Regions from separate parts of the Homo sapiens genome. Here regions 2 and 3 are each linked to region 1. Evidence: promoter capture Hi-C in human tissues and cell types (Jung and others, 2019). All regions are on one chromosome and are shown on one strand. Each heading gives the region's core, a stretch centred on a gene start or on the middle of the fragment in contact. The rest is flanking DNA. Distances are from core to core; before and after follow the strand shown.

Region 1 (3,195 bases), core at 396-2,895:
ACACAAACACATACACAGACACACACAGACACACACAGATAAACACACACAGACACATAGACACAGAGACACACACACACAGATAGGCACACAGACACACACAAACACATACACAGACACACACACAGACACAGACACACACAGATAAACACACACAGACACATAGACACAGAGACACACACACACAGATACACACACAAAGCCACACACAGACACAGACACACAGATAAGACACACACACAAATGGACACACACAGACACATAGACACAGAGACACACTCAGACACACACACAGATACACACATACACATGCAGATGCACACAAGGACACACAGACACACAAACATACAGAGACTTACACACAGATGCACACATACAGAGACACGCATACAGACACACAGACACACACACAGATGCACACACAGACGTACACGTATATTATTTGCAGCCGAAGAGAGGCAGGCTGCGTGCAGAGGCTGGCAGCTGGGCTCCGTCTGTCCATGCGAGGCGCCCGCTCCTGTTTGTGCGGGACACGTGCCCAGGTCCTCACCAGCAGCTCAGGCAGAACCTGGAGCCACAGACACCGCCCAGCACCATCCTCACACATCCTCTGCCCACCTGCCCTCTGCTCCGCGTCAGGGGAGGCAGGAGCTGCCCCTGGGGCCTGCTCCAGGCAGTTCTGCCACCGCAGGTGAGAGGGGTGGGCTGGAAGGAACCCTGGAAGCAGGTGGGGGCCCTCGGAGGCAGCCGCCCCACAAACACCAAGCACACATGGAACTCGGCAGTCCTTTATTTAGATCAATGCGGGGCTGAGGGGCCCTCATTCCACTGCAGGGCAAAGGGGGACCAGGCCCAAGGAGGCCTCCTTCTGCCCAAGGTCTGGAGGCAGAGAGGGGCTCGCAGGCGGCCCGAGGGCGCCGCATCCAGGCCCCGGAGCGCAAAGCCTTCCTCCCAGGGGGAGGCAGTTTCCCATCCACCGACCAGGTTTCCCCGGAGAGTCCCAGCACAAAAGCAGCAGCGGGCGGTGGCCCTGAAGGCTCAGAGCGCAGCCAGGGGGACACAGGCGGGGAGCCTCACTCCTGGGCGAGCATCCTCGCGAACTCCTCGTAGTTCACCCGCCCGTCCTGGTCCACGTCGGCCTCGCGGATCATGGCGTCCAGCTCCTCCTGCGGCAGCGGCTGCCCCAGCCCCGCCATGGCCCGCCTGAGCTCGTCCACGGTGATGTGGCCGTCGCCATCCTGGTCGAAGGCGCGGAAGGCGACCTGCAGGTCCTCCAGGCCGGCCCTGGCCTTCTTCGCCGCCGTCAGGAACTCCTGGAAGCTGATTTCGCCGTCGCCGTCGCTGTCAACCTCGGAGATGAGTTTCCTTAGCTGGGCCTCCGAGAGGTTCTTGCCCGTGGCCTTCAGCGCCGCGCCCAGCTCCTGGGCATTGATGGTGCCGTTTCCATCCGTGTCAACCGCGGAGAAAGCCTTTTTGTACTGGGCCTCCTCCTCAGGAGTCAGCTCACCGGCCATGCCTGCGTCTCCTGCACCTCGCGGAGCCTCCGAGCTGCTGCCCACCGGCCCTCAACCTGCTGCTCTCAGAGCTCGTGGTCCAGAGTGCAGGCAGCCGCAGGGATCCGGGCAGCGTCTGTCCCAGACAGTTCTGCCTTGGCATGGGAACCCCCTCCTTTTCTGCAATCGGAACAAAGGGAGGAGGGAGGCTCCCCACCCTCCAAATGCCCTGGGGTGAGAGCCTCCTCCCAGGGAGGGCCAGATCAGCTGCAGACAGGAAATGCAGGAATGGGAGTTGGGAGAGCTGTCAGGTGCCAGGTGGGAACTGCCATGGGGTCGGGGTATCGGATGGCTAGCCTGCCAACCCCGCCTGGCCTTGATAGCAACCACCTCCCTCCAGGAACATTCTGCCCAAGGGATAGTTTCCCCTGCAGCTGATTCTCGGAGATCCTGACCAAGCCAAGGGGTTCAAGACAGCTTCTGCAACTTCACAAAGACTGAGACTGGAGGGGGAGGTGGCTTGAAGAGGGCTCCCTCAAGGGCACAGCAGGCCCCAGTGTTTGGTGTTTCCGTACCCCTCTCTCCAGTGCTACTGCCTAGCTCTTGCCCTGAGGCTGGGGCTGGTGGAAGGGAAGTGGGTGGTAGTGTTGATTCTGCCAGGGCACAACTGTGGGTATCATGAGATTCCCAGGCCAGGGTCTAGAGACAGAGGATGGGGCTCACTGCCTATAACTTCAAGGAAGCAAGGGACCAGGGCTGCCTTCAGAGCCATAGCTGGTGCTGAGATGGTGTTTATCAAGTGAACATGTGACGTGCAGTTTCAGAGGAGAGGGAAAGACTTTTTGTCTCCCCAGAATACTCCCTTCTAGCTCAGGGATTCCTACAATTCAATTCCATCGCCAAGTCCAAGGTTCCCTGTGCAGACACCCTGGGAGCTCAGTGGCAGGCGTTCCATTCACAGGGCGTCAAACAGTTACAGCTGGAGTTTTGCTGCAGCGAGACACGGGGGACCTCAGTGCCCAGCATACCCCAAAGGTGCAGGCAGAGGTGCAGGAGGATGCAGAACAGGTGGCTGCCATCAAACTTGGCCCTCCTTGTGGTTTTACTAAGCATCAGCCCTAAGCACAGAGACCCATCTGGGAGCCTACTGGGGTCCTCAATCTGATCTGTTCTCTGGAAGGAAACCCCCAGGGCCACTTGCCTTGACCAACTTTTAGAGCAACAGCTAAGCTTTCGGGGGACCATCCCCAAGTCCTTCCACTGATGTGATCTACAGTTGTGAGGGGACATTTGCCTTGGAGTCCCCAAAATGCCTTTCCCAAGCAAGTCCCCTCTGATCTCCATAGATTCCCATTCTTCTCCCCAGCCCCTGCCCGTACACAGGGAACAAACTCCTTTATTCCCCTGGGAAAGTTTATACATTCCACCTCCCTCCTGTTCAGCCCATCAAATAGACCAAGTGCCCTCTCCTTCCCTAAAGTGCAGCCAGACAAACACCTCCCAGCCCCTTGGTGCTGCACACATTCTCCAAGGGAAGCCGGAGGCTGGGGTGCCCAACCACGCACTCCATGACCCACAGCTCAGTCCCCCAGGACCACACAAGGGGCAAACCAGGCAGAGCAGTGAGAGGAGGGAAGATGCCCCAGCCAGCCCTAGTGTGGCAGCTGCTCCCTGAGCTGCATGTGAGGGGCCAGAGGGAGGT
Region 2 (3,195 bases), core at 451-2,950, 70 kb before region 1:
AGCATTTCCTCCTGGTGTGCAGTCATTTCCTAGGGGATAGATTCTGTTCCTTGTTTTCTTTTTTCATAGAATGATATTGTGTAGAATTTGACTTTGAGAATTTTCTGTTCATTTTAGTGTGAATTTAGTTTTCAACTTGTACACAAAATCTTGGTTCAGATAGCTTTTCTGACTTCACAACCCTCCTTCGTGTTGTTTTTTATGGTAGCTTGCTTTCTGAGACTGCCTGGCTCTGTTACTTTCTCCACTTCTATCTGGACTTTGCCGTTCCTTTTTTTTTTTTTTTTTTTTTTTTTTTTTCTTCTCTATTGGCCCTATCTTGTTCAATTTTGATTCAATTCCCAGCAGTTTCTCCTCACTGTGGGGCCAGGAAGTTGACGGGAACCCTAACTAGTCACTTTTTAAGAGTTACCAAGAAGTAAGCTGTGTAGGTAACCTGAAAAGTTATTTTGAGATGTGGGAAAATGAAGTGTTACCCGTGGGTGCTTATTCACTATTAATTAAGTACCAGAAATGGTAGATATGTACACAGTTTTGCCACTACTGGTGCCAGAAGGGCTGAATGAAAGTGATAAATGGTAAGTGGAAAGTACTCCAGGGACATGGCTGTTCACCTTCTAGTTAATCAATCCTGCCTCAGGCAACAAATCTTAATTACTTTGGGCCATGAGAAAAGGATTTTTTTTTTCTAGTGAAGACCTTGCCCCCAAGATAAATAATGTGTTCCTTTTCAAAAAAAAAAAACTAGCTGATTTTATATTTAAAAAATTTTTACTTTTTCTCTAACAAGTACAGACAGCCCTTGATTTACATAAGAGTTCTGTTCTGAAAAACTTAAGTAGTATTTTAATAGGGTAGCCACTTCACAGCAGTGATGACTTAGTCAGGGGAGACTGTTCAGATAGTATCTATTCCAAAGACAATTCATGAGCGTCTCTCCTCAAGATAATTTTCTTTGTTTTTTTTTTTTTTTGAGAGGAAATCTTGCTCTGTCACCCAGGCTGGAGTGCAGTGGCGCAATCTCGGCTCACTGCAGCCTCTGCCTCCCAGGTTCAAACGATTCTCCTGCCTCAGCCTCTTGAGTAGCTGGGACTACAGGTGTGTGTCACCACGCGCAGCTAATTTTTTTTTTTTTTTTGGATTTTTAGTAGAGACAGGGTTTCGCCACGTTGGCCAGGCTGGTCTCGAACTCCTGACCTCAGACGATCCGCCCTCCTCAGCCTCCTAAAGTGCTGAAATTACAGACGTGAGCCACCGCGCCTGGCCTCAAAGTAATTTTCTTGTGACTATAGCCAAAGGCTTAACTTTTTTAAATTGATTTTTCTAGTTTTATAGAGTCTTTGTTTTGTGAGGTAATATGCATTCCTTTTATATGAGAATGAAATCTCTATTTTTCTTTTAGAAAAGAAAACGCAGAGAGAAAGATGATGATGTTGTAAGCCTTAGCAGCCTTGATCTGAAGGTAAGCCCTGCTGCCCTGTTAAAGAAAAGCATTTAAAAATATGCAGATAGCATTTTATTTCTGTGCTGCAAGAATAACAAATGCTGGTTTGGGTTTTTTTGTTTTTTTGTTTTTTGCATTTTGTAAGTGCAAAAGTGAATAATATTAGTTCATAGACACCGTCTTTTTTGCTATTCTACTTCTTTGTTAAGAATGAGGGAGAAACCACTCTCAAAATGTTAGGCTATAACTACTGATCACAAACACAAATGCTAAGGAGACAGGCTGTAATCTGTGCGAAGGAACGAGGTAAGAGAGGGCCGGTGGTGAAAAGGAGAGCCCCAGGTTCTAGCCCACTGTCACATGTAGGACTGTCAAAACCTGGATTTTTATGTGAAATCTCCTGAATTTTAAATGTTGAGTCAGTTTTTCTTAAAAAATACATGCAAGCAAAATAACTTATCTGTAAGTCATATGTGGCCCATGGGCTTCAAGGCTTCAAGTATGTGACATAGAATAAACTAACACTCAGCACACACTTTAAAATACTTGAAGTTTTCTTATATGAAATTGTACTTAAGTCCAAAAACCTAGTATCTTTGGAATTACTAACATCATTTTTGCCAGTTAGTAAATTTTACTGTAGCATCTTGGTTTTGGAGAGTCTTTTTTTAAGGTTATAAAAGAGTTGTACATTTTTAAATGTGATTTTTAAAAATGTTTCATATTATGTTTAACAGCAGCAGCTGCTGTTTCTTTTTAAAGACAAGATATTTTCTAAAAATTAAATTTTTATAATCTGCTCATCAACATTTTAACAAATCCAGCAAGTCAATTTTTTTCTTATTTTTAGTACACAGTGTCTTCATAGAAGAATTATGTGTTTTAAGTTGTAAGCATTTTGCAAAACAGTTTTAGTTGCATTTAAAATATCTTGTATTCAAAAAAAGAAAAAAGTATGAAATGACAACCTTGATTATTTTTAGGTATGTTTCAAATCAAATCAAATACAGAAATAGTATTTGTAGTTTGCCACAGTAAAATACGTGGTCTTCAACTAAGCTTTAGCAGTTATCAATATATGAATTATTTTGAAGTAAATCCTAGATGTCATGTCCTTTCATCTGTAAATATTCCATTTACTATCTTTATTGTCTTAGATAAAAACTTTTTTTTTTTTTTTTGAGGCGGAGTCTCGCTCTGTCTCCCAGGCTGGAGTGCAGTGGTGCGATCTCGGCCCCCTGCAACCTCCGCCTCCTGGGTTCAAGAGATTCTCTTGCCTCAGCCTCCTGAGTAGCTGAGATTACAGGTGTGTGCCACCATGCCCGGCTAATTTTTGTATTTTTAGTAGAGACAGGGTTTTGCCATGTTGTCCAGGCTGGTCTTGAATTCCAGACTCGGCCCCACAAAGTGCTGGGATTACAGGTGTGAGTCACCATGCCGGACCTTAGATAAGAACTTTTTAAAAACATAATAAAATACACTTTCTACAAAACAGTACAAATAATTCCTTAATATCAGATTCAGTTCAGAATTCATGCATTTTCTTGATCTTGTTTGTGTGTTTTTGTGGGGTTTTTTGTTTGTTTAGGTTTTTTTTGGTTTGGGGTTCATTTTGCCTGTTTGTAGTCCAAATAAGACACATACATTATGATTAACTATATCTCTTTTTTTTTTTTTTGAGACAGAGTCTCGCTCTTTTGCCCAGGCTGGAGTGCAGTGGCGCGATCTCTGCTCACTGCAAGCTCCGCCTC
Region 3 (3,195 bases), core at 450-2,949, 66 kb after region 1:
CCAAGCCGAGATGCCGGAAATGGGGAGCTGCCGGGGAGGGGAGATGGGAGGTTGGAAAACGGTGTCATGGGAGTTCTCTCCTGGGCCTTTAAAGTGCCCATTCTCAGACAGAGGAGTCCAGAGGGACGTCTGGAAGCTTGGTTTGGAAGAAATTCCAGACTTCCCTGGGCAGCCAAGGCATTCTCTAGCTTTCTACGATCCAGGCCTGGCCCCTGCCTCATAAATCTCGCAGGAAGCGCTCTCAGGAAGGACGCTACTGGCCTGGGGCAGCCTCGGAGTTGAATGAAGATGGTTTGACTCTGAGAATGACTGGCCCCAGCCAGATTCCCCGTGGGGCAGCCCGTCTGTTTGGAAGTCTCCTTCCCCGCCGGGCCTGCACACCCACCCCTCCTGCCACATCAGCCCCAATATCTCTGCATTGAGCCCAGTGGGCACCTTCCCTTCCGTTGCTCAGAGAGCTTCAGAGACAGACCCTTACTCCTGCATTGATGTCCATCCAAGGGACGGGGCTCAGGCTGTCCCTTCCAGCTCACGAAATAGGTGCAGAGCCAGGCAGAGCAGCCCAAGTGTGACTCACACCCCGCCAGGTCCCGTGGGCACTTTCTCAGCAGGGTTGTGGGGGCAGCAACTCCATCCACTTTCCTCTGTCCCCTCACCCGCCCACCACTGCCCACGGCCAGAGTCACTGGAGCAGCCTCCATTCCGTCCCTGCACGGCAGTCACCATGATCTCTCCAAACCACAAGTCAGGGTGTTGCCTCTGCTTACAAGCCTTTGGTGACTGCCTGCCGTCTCAGACATGCTCAGCAGCAGTCACACTCACCGCCCCGTCATGCCTGTCTCTCACCGTCCTCCCGGCTCGCTCTCCTCTCACCAGGCTTAACGGCCACACTTCCTGGGGCACTTCTGTGACCCCAGGGCCCGGCTGGTGCCCTTCCACGGTGGTGCTTCACCACCTTGCAATTGCTGGTTTACATCCCTGATCACCCAGACTAAACGTGAAGGGCCAGGACTGTGCTGAAAGTCCTGAAACCCAGAGATGAGAGCTCAGCTCAGACCGCACGTGATGCCTCGGTGTGGACATGTGCCCAGCTGAGCGTGCAAGCCCCTAATGGCCGCTCAGCAATGCTTGTGTTTTCTCCCTTGAAACTCTGGAGCAACTGCAGCCAAACATCCTCTGCTCACTCTGTTTGTATCTCTGTCCTCTAAATCAGCCCTCTGACTTCCTCCCCGCCTGCGATGAGACTGTGAAGGAATAACAACATCCGGAGGAGATTGTGCCCCAACTTGGCTGTCGAAGGGGCCTCATCAGCCACCTTCATGGCCCAGACGGTCAAAGGCTGACCCCACAGAGTAAGGCTGGCCCTAGGAAGAGTGGGTGCTGGGCAAGGTCCACCGTGTGCCGCAAGATCCCCCATTTAATGCAAACAACATCTCAATGAAAGATAGCATCAAAGACGGCAGTCTGAAGCCCAGGGAAGGGCGTGGACTTTGAAGTTGGGCAGGTTTGAGTTTAAGTGTTGTTTTGCCACTTCTGCTGTCTGTACCATCTTGGCAATCTGTAAAATGCATATAACACCTCGTGTGTTAGGGTGGGTCCTTGCTGCAATAACAAACAACCCCAGATCTCAGTAACTGCGTGCAATGAAACACCTGCTTCTCCCTCACACGAAGCCGAATGTGATGGTTTCTAGTTACATGGTTCTCTTGGGTGGGCTTCTCCCAGGCCGCAGCTCCACTGAGCTCCATAGTCCCCCGCTGGATCTCCTGCCCTAAAGTGGTCAACAGATGAAGAGAGACGGTGTGAGTATTGGGCAGGAGGTTTCTGGGGCAGCCTGGAGGTGGTGTCCTCCAGCATCACTCCCAGGGGCCCCGGCTGCAAGCAGGACATGCTGAAGCTGCAGTGTTCTGGGAAAGACATAGCCCCGCTTCTGCCACACCTGCCTGGCAGAATTGTCATGTTTTAGGGGACGGCTCGTAAAATGGCTTAACAGGCTCTTGGCCCAGGGACTGCTAGAATAGTGAGTTTCCTTCTTCTCTTCGCCTTTGGTGATGTTGGGGCTGGAAGATTTCTAGAATGAGCTGTGTCTGTAAAGAAGCCTCAAGTCTTTTTTTTTAAGCACCCGCGGATGAGGCTTTTTGAGGCACTAGCCGGGCATCAGAGGCCCAGGGAAGTTCAAGGGTTCACCCTGATTGGCCTGAACATCTGGGAAGTTCTGGGCTGAGCACGATGACAAATGTGCCTCCCACCCCCACCATCCACACTCATCTACCCACACACACGGGTTCTGTCCTGCCCCGAAGGAAGATGGTTTCAGGATGACTGGATTTCTGAATTTCCTCCGTGCAGATTAAGGAGGCTTAAGAAGCCCGCCTGTTGGGAGGAAGCCTCCGACCGGAGCTGCTCTGGCTGGGAAGGGGTGGCTCAGGGTGGTGCCTGCTGTTCAGCCAGGCTCCCCGAGGCAGGTGGGATGAGACACCTGGGTGGGGCGGGCAGAAGCTCAGAGTCTGCACGGTGCCAGGGAGGATGATGAGGGCGAGGATGGATGAGCCCACAGGGGTGCATACTCCACCTCCCGAAAACACAAGGAGCTCAGCGGCTGCACACACAGGCAGCACAGAAAAGAACAATGGGGCAACTCGAGGGCGTTCTGAGGGTACCTCTTGCCTACATCACCTGGTTTTAGTCATCTCCCACGTGCCTGCCTTCAGGCTGATGGACTTCTGTGAGATCCCTGGGTTGCTGGCTTTGAAAGCCACTGGGTACCGACCACCCACATCTTGGCAGGGGAGCTCCCATTGCTAACATTGCTTCATAAAGTGCCACTGGAGAACAGCTGTTGAGTGGTGACCAGCCCCCAAGGAGTCAACCGCCTTTCCCACCCCCAACTCACCAGAGTCCCATGAGGACACCCCACACTCAAACCCAATCTGGACAAAACTGTCAAGGACCCTAACCCAGGCGTGCCCCCCACCTTCTCATCCAGCTCCCTTTGACTCACTTGGGTGGTCGCAGCCGCCGGCTGTGATTTCTGGCCCATGCCTAGTTATTTTAAAGGCCAAATTTTCACAGCCATGCAACAGGCCCTTATCTCCAGGCCTTCAGATGCTCCCATGTGGCTTGTTTGATTCTCCTTCATATCAGCCCTCTCTCAAGACTCAAATTTCATTTCAAACCAAATTTCTCTTTTCTCCA

Evidence for each region. The method cuts DNA at HindIII sites, captures the fragments that hold promoters and counts their contacts. A contact is called where the count stands out against the background at its distance.
Region 2: a contact is called between a fragment that was not itself captured here and the fragment with the promoter of CALML5 in region 1, in 3 of the 25 tissues and cell types used here (adrenal gland, bladder and mesendoderm cells).
Region 3: a fragment that was not itself captured here is called in contact with the fragment with the promoter of CALML5 in region 1 in 5 of the 25 tissues and cell types used here (H1 embryonic stem cells, adrenal gland, heart right ventricle and 2 more).

The regions. Positions count from the first base shown.
Region 1 is chr10:5,497,925-5,501,119 of GRCh38, forward strand. CALML5 (calmodulin like 5) reads right to left here and starts at 1,646. Exons shown (of 1, transcript NM_017422.5): 1 at 773-1,646. The coding sequence starts at 1,514. The coding sequence ends at 1,074. The HindIII fragment of the contact is 7,245 bases long and covers 1-3,195 here.
Region 2 is chr10:5,427,768-5,430,962 of GRCh38, forward strand. NET1 (neuroepithelial cell transforming 1) reads left to right here. Exons shown (of 12, transcript NM_001047160.3): 3 at 1,403-1,462. Among named protein-coding and RNA genes, the nearest start is that of NET1, 17 kb to the left of the region's middle. The HindIII fragment of the contact is 8,393 bases long and covers 1-3,195 here.
Region 3 is chr10:5,563,535-5,566,729 of GRCh38, forward strand. It overlaps LOC105376381 (a long non-coding RNA gene), which reads right to left. Exons shown (of 2, transcript XR_001747274.2): 1 at 3,002-3,195; 2 at 1-1,771. Among named protein-coding and RNA genes, the nearest start is that of LASTR, 31 kb to the right of the region's middle. RefSeq lists a silencer at 410-636. The HindIII fragment of the contact is 4,548 bases long and covers 1-3,195 here.